2 separate regions of the Homo sapiens genome follow, and region 2 is linked to region 1. The links are contacts of gene promoters, found by promoter capture Hi-C in blood cells and fetal thymus (Javierre and others, 2016). All regions are on one chromosome and are shown on one strand. The core of a region is centred on a gene start or on the middle of the fragment in contact, and the rest is flanking DNA. Distances in the headings are between cores, read along the strand shown. Region 1 has its middle 2.6 kb from the start of ALG14. Region 2 holds the start of PKN2 (protein kinase N2).

Evidence for each region. The method cuts DNA at HindIII sites, captures the fragments that hold promoters and counts their contacts. A CHiCAGO score of 5 or more calls a contact.
Region 2: the fragment with the promoter of PKN2 here is called in contact with a fragment that was not itself captured in region 1 in 1 of 17 cell types (non-activated CD4 T cells); the score reaches 7.6 in non-activated CD4 T cells.

What each region holds. Positions count from the first base shown.
Region 1 is chr1:95,074,025-95,077,176 of GRCh38, reverse strand. No RefSeq gene overlaps it. Among named protein-coding and RNA genes, the nearest start is that of ALG14, 2.6 kb to the right of the region's middle. The HindIII fragment of the contact is 4,740 bases long and covers 1-3,152 here.
Region 2 is chr1:88,682,787-88,685,662 of GRCh38, reverse strand. PKN2 (protein kinase N2) reads right to left here and starts at 1,390. Exons shown (of 22, transcript NM_006256.4): 1 at 1,035-1,390. The coding sequence starts at 1,082. It overlaps PKN2-AS1 (PKN2 antisense RNA 1), which reads left to right and starts at 459. Exons shown (of 4, transcript NR_110682.1): 1 at 459-499. RefSeq lists enhancers at 1,116-1,195, 1,226-1,555. The HindIII fragment of the contact is 6,383 bases long and covers 1-2,876 here.

The DNA.
Region 1 (3,152 bases), core at 268-2,767:
CTGACTCTACAAAAAATACAAAAATTAGCCATGCATGGTGGCATACACCTGTAGTCCCAGTTACTTGGGACACTGAGGTGAGAGCATCTCCCGAGCCCAGGGAGGTTGAGGCTGCAGTGAGCTGAGAGCGCATCACTGCATGCCAACCTGGGTGACAGAGTGAGACCCTGTCTCAGAAAAAAAAAAAAAAAAATCACCTCCCAGACATGCTTTACTTATGACTGGTTATAGACCACATATCGTTATTCATTTTGTCAACTATTAACATAGTTTTCATGCTTTTTGCAGCACTATAATTTACTTCCATGAATCTGTTAAATGTACTGTCAGCGCAACTCATCTTCCCAAGAGAAATTTTAATTGTTGCTTCTTCTCACTCAGTCTTAACTTTCCTGATTAATCCACTATAGCTTTTTTTTTTTTTTTTTGAGACAGAGTTTCGATCTTGTTGCCCAGGCTGGAGTGCAATGGCACGATCTCAGCTCACTGCAACCTCCCCCTCCCGGGTTCAAGCAATTCTCCTGCCTCAGCCTCCTGAGTAGCTGGGATTACAGGCATGTGACACCATGCCCTGCTAATTTTGTATTTTTAGTAGAGACGGGGTTTCTCCATGTTGGTCAGGCTGGTCTGAAACTCCCGATCTCAGCTGATCCACCCTCCTCAGCCTCCCAAAGTGCTGAGATTACAGGCATGAGCCACCGCACCTGGCCTTTTTTTTTTTTTTTTTTTTTTTTTTTTTTTTGAGACAGGGTCTCTGTCACCCAGGCTGGAGTGCAGTAGTGCAAATATGGCTCACTGCAGCCTTGATCTCTTGGGTTTAAGCAAACCTCCCACCCCAGCCTCCTGAGTAGCTGGGACTACAGGTACACACCACCATCATGCCTGGTTAATTTTTTACAGAGATAGGGTCTCACTCTGTTGCCTTGGCTGGTCTCAAACTCTGAGGTTCAAGTGATCCTCCTGCCTTGGCCTCCTAGATTGCTGAGATTACAGGCATGAGCCACCATGCCTGGCCCACTACAGCTTCTTGACTTCTTGATTATCTATACATTCTGTGTCTGTCACAGCCCAGGACTTGGCTTACCCAGGTGACATTTTTGGCAGGAATTCTCAGCTATGTTCCTGTCCCTGCCTGCTACCTAGCTGCTCCCTGCAGTTCTCAACTTTCTTGGCAGGAAAACTAAAGAGTTTTATGATCACCTTAATTCAGAATAATTCAACCAATAAGTCCAAACAATGTCTGGTACCCCACCCTCTTTGATTCTCTGCATTTCCTTGCAAGCCCCCAATGTTTGATTGCTTCCATTCATTCCAGCTACATGCCAAGTGTGGTCAAACTAATATTTCCTACAGATATAGGTAATTATAATAGTGAGGGGATGAAGTAATGGGAAATGCAAGGGTGTCCTCCAAGTATTAAATCTACCTTAATATAGAGCTTGGGGCCTGGAGCTAAGTAATTATCATATGCCTGACATTTTCATTGCATGTGTCAGTTTACAAAGCTGTTTCAGACACATCATCATCACAGCAATCTAGATGCTATTGTTTGCCTACCCAACAACCCTCCCTGCAGCTTCCTCCTCACTGAGAGAATGCCTATTTTGTTCAGTACCCACCCTCCATCCAACAGCCATGTATTACAGGTGAGTTGTAGATCATCCTCCTCCCACCTCCACCAGCTTTGAAGTCGCTTTCCTTTTATGCCTGGGAAAGTGATATAAGTATGGCCAAAAGGAGTGAAAGAAAGTCTGCTGTGAGGGGTTCTAGAATAAGTTTCCTTGCCTTTAAAAAAATAAAAAATAAAGCAGGCCGGGCGTCATGGCTCACCCGTATAATCCCAGCACTTTGGGAGGCTGAGGTGGGCGGATCATGAGGTCAGGTTCAAGACCAACCTGACCAACATGGTGAAACCCCGTCTCTACTAAAAATACAAAAATTAGCTGGGTGTGGTGGCGCATACCTGTAGTCCCAGTTACTTGGGAGGCTAAGCCAGGCGAATTGCTTGAATCCCAGAGGTGGAGGTTGCAGTGAGCCGAGACCGTGCCACAGAGCAAGACTGGGGGGGAGGGGCAAAAAAGACCCGACAAGATAACCTCTTTTTTGGCTATGGAGATTGCCCTGTTGGATGTAACCATCCACACATCCCATTCTGGGACCACTAGTGTCTTAAGTATCAGGTAAGACTGTTTCAGGTTGAAGACATTATTAGGAATGGCAGAGTGGGCATATACAAGTAAATGATACTCCTTGTATTATCCTTGAGCTGTTTTTCTTACTACACCAAAGACCCTACCTCTGGACTTCCAACTACGCATTTGTAAGCCCAGAGAATTCTGATTCCATTAAAATTTGAGAGACACTGACTTCTAAGTCCACAACTATGAACTTTCTCCACCCTTACTAGCTAAGTAGACTTAGGCAAATTATTTAACTTTTATGGAATCTACTTCTTTGTCTGTAAAAAGGGAACTAATATCCACTTTAAGGTCTTACTGCGAGAATGTATAGTTAAGAAGATTTGATGGAGCCGGGCGCAGTGGCTCATGCCTGTAATCCCAGCACTTTGGGAGGTAGAGGCGGGCAGATCACCTGAGGTTAGGAGTTCGAGACCAGCCTGGCCAACATGGTGAAACTCTGTCTCTACTAAAAAAAAAAAAAAAAAAAATAGCCAGGCATGGTGGTGCATGCCTGTAGTCCCAGCTACTTGGGAGGCTGAGGCAGGAGAATCGCTTGAACCTGGGAGGTGGGGGTTGCAGTGAGCCAAGATTGTGCCACTGCACTCCAGCCAAGCGACAGAGTGAGACTCTGTCTCAAAAAAAAAAAAAAAGAAAAGAAAAGAAAAGAAAGAAGATTTGATGGAAGACAATTTGGAAAGTGTTGTAAGGTCCACGGACTCTACTCACAAAGTCTCCCAAACTTGCTTGCTGATAGGAATGGACACGCTGGTTACATAAGCTAATCCCAGGTGCCCGATCCCCGGAAATTCTGATTCAGTGTTTCCTAATGGACCCTGGGAGTCTGCACCTTTAATAACACATTCTAGGCTCCAGGTAAGTGTGGTGATCAGGCAAGTTTGAATTTAGCAAAGGAATACAGGATGCAGTACTCCTGTCCAGCAGGACTCAGATTTCTGGTTTCTGATTCTAGAT
Region 2 (2,876 bases), core at 141-2,640, 6.4 Mb after region 1:
AATAAAGCAAAATAACTTTTAAGTCAAAAAACAAACATCTCTGGAACACTCCCAAGTAATGAAAAACCCGACAGGGTAGCTTAAGTCCCCATGTACACCATAGAGATCTAAAGAAAATCGTGCCTACATTATCAAATATTTATCTGGAAATGGGAAATAACATTGCTACTCGACATGACTTAACTAAGCGATCTACTTTGCTCTCATCTTTTGCAGACATGTGGTGCCCAATGTTTTCCCTTAGTCGACTGCTTTCTCATTAGTAAACAACTTATTAGCTCTTTCTCTGGTGCTCAAATGAGAGGGAAAATGAAAGTCTGAAAAGCATCAGCATCTGAGCTCCCGGATCTGGGCAGGGGTAGCAGAGAAAGGCACCCTGTATTTATCACTCGGTTAAAAAAAAAAAAAGAAAGGAAAAGAAAAGAAAAAGATAACCCTCAAAATAGAGGAAAGAAACTCTGTCACCTGAAGAGGGCTGCTGAAGTGAAGCAAACATTTGGTGAGACTCGTTTTTTAAAAAAACTTGTCTAGGGGCTGGAAGTTATGGGGGCGCTCTTTGTGCGGAGTCTGAGGGGAGGGGGAGGGACAAGAAAACAGCTTGGGAGTCATTCAAAGGAGTTTAAGGAGCGGTGTACGGAGGAAAGGCGGGGCGGGGCCCGGCCGCGCGAAGGGAGGGGGCAACAGGGGCGTTCGCGGGTAGCTCTGACACCGAGGGAGGGGGCGACGGGCCGGCCTCTCCGGGGACCAGGCGAGAGCAGGCTCCCGCTGCAGCAGGGCTGCAGAGATGGGGTCCCCTCTGGTAGGCAGAATCAAACCAAAGCGGTGGCAGGCCAGGGCTTTGGCGGGGGAGAGGGTCCGGCTCCCCAGGGAAGCGGTTCCCCGAGGGAAGCATTTCCCGAGTGACATCCCGGAGTTTCCGCACTTAGCGGGCTAGGGGCGCGGCGGCCGCAGGGCTTTCCTCGGTCCCCGACGCCGCGCGGGGCTCTCTCCCTGTCTCCTCCGCCAGCGCCTCTCACCAGGGCCGCGGCCCTTACCTGCAGTTCCGTGAGCAGAATCTCCCCCCGTTCGGGGTTGGACGCCATTGCGCTCCGGTATGGACTCCGCACCTGGACGCGGCCGCCTCTGGCGAAGGGAGAAGGCGGGACGGGGCTCGGGGTGGGGGTGAGGAGAGGGGAGAGAAAGAAAAAAAAAAAAACAACTAGGGATTCATGGAGGCGCAGCCCCTGCTGGAGGCGCGGCTTATTCCGTCCGGTTCATCGAGAGCGGCGGGGAGCTAGGGCACTCGTAGCGGGCTTCCTCTCGCCGCCCTCACCGGACTGTTCGTCTAGTCGCTCCCTCTGGGCGACGCCAGGAGCCGCCTCAAGCCTCTCCGTGCGGGCGCTGCGGCCGCGGCTGCAGCTCCTCCTGTCGCACCATTTGGCTGTCACCGCGTCGCAAAAGCGGCCTCACTTGGCGGCTGCCAGCACACGTGACGGCGGCAGCCACTGCCCCTCATCGGGCAGGGAAGGTGGGGCGGAGGGGTTCCCTAGGGCGAACGCGGCGAGGGGGCGGGGCGTCTTCCGACCCGACTCCGCGGCGAGGGCAGCCATTGGACTCGGCTGGGGTGAAAATGAGGGGAAAGGACTGGGCTCGAGTCTCTGGGGAGGCGGGAAGAGGAAGAAAACACACGCCTACTTTCCTGCTGCGTTTAACGGCTTCACTGTGAACGCTAGAACTCGGGAGCCTGCTCGCTGTTGTTTTTTCGGGTTTCGTTTTTTTTTTCTTTCTTTTTTTTTTTTCCCAGTTCCACCTTGCCGAAACTTGGGCCTAACTTTAACAGGCCCTTTTCTAACCTCCATAACCCAAAGAGCTTCGGGACTCAGATCTTACAGATTATTCCTCTGCTCTCCCCTTGACCCCCACGTCAACCCAAACTAATAATCTTGCCTTTTGCTCACCCTCAAACCCAGCCCCCAGCGCGCCTTCTCGACCAGTTAAGGTGCACAGCTAGCTAAACGGGTATGGTCTGTACTTTTCATGAAATGTAAGCGGCTGGATCCCTGGCAACTTTTAATGTACGGCCTTTAAGATGTCTTTTTCTTGAGGTTGAACTACTGTTGCTTGTACTGGAGAACTGTACAGAGCTGAGAATTAGCTGGGTTTTTTTGGGTTGTTTTAACTTTATTTAAGGGAGGGGGAGGTGGGACGGGATTACCCTCGGGAAAGGAAAAAAGCCACCTTTCCTTGGCGTGGTAAGCATTAAAGCTAACCTGACTACTTAGTAAAATATAGCTAAGTAAAGTAAATCTAGGTGTTTGTTTTTAATGACACTATGGTATTAAGGAATTTCGAAGTCTCCTACAGGTAGCTTTTGTTTTTGTTTTGTCTGAGCAGTGAATGGATAGGTAAACGCGTAACTTTTGATTTTTTGAAGCTGCGGTACAATACCTTTGTTAAAACTACCTGGAGAGAGTGGTAAGGGTTATTTAGGTACGTTGCTACTTAGAAAGGGCATTCGTTGACATATTTCTTAGGAAGTGTAACATTATGTACTTCTCACACGCTCCATGTAACTCTGTTGGCCTGATGCCAGGACTTAACGTCTATCCTTTTGCCTTCTCAAGTCTCATACATCAATTCAGCAAACATGTATTGAAGATCTGGAGTTCTGTGGCCACAGTTTCTGAACTCTAACTTATCATATGTGTGATAAAGAATTTTTCTGGTGTGTACTTCACAAGTCTTACAACTATTTATGTGTCTAGTATATTGCCTTGGTTGAAGATGATAATTAAATACATGAAAGAACACTTGGAAAGGCCGGGATATGATTACCTTTACTGGTAACTAAAAGCCAGATGGTTTCCTAGGCTTTGGAGTTACAGAAAGGATTAGGA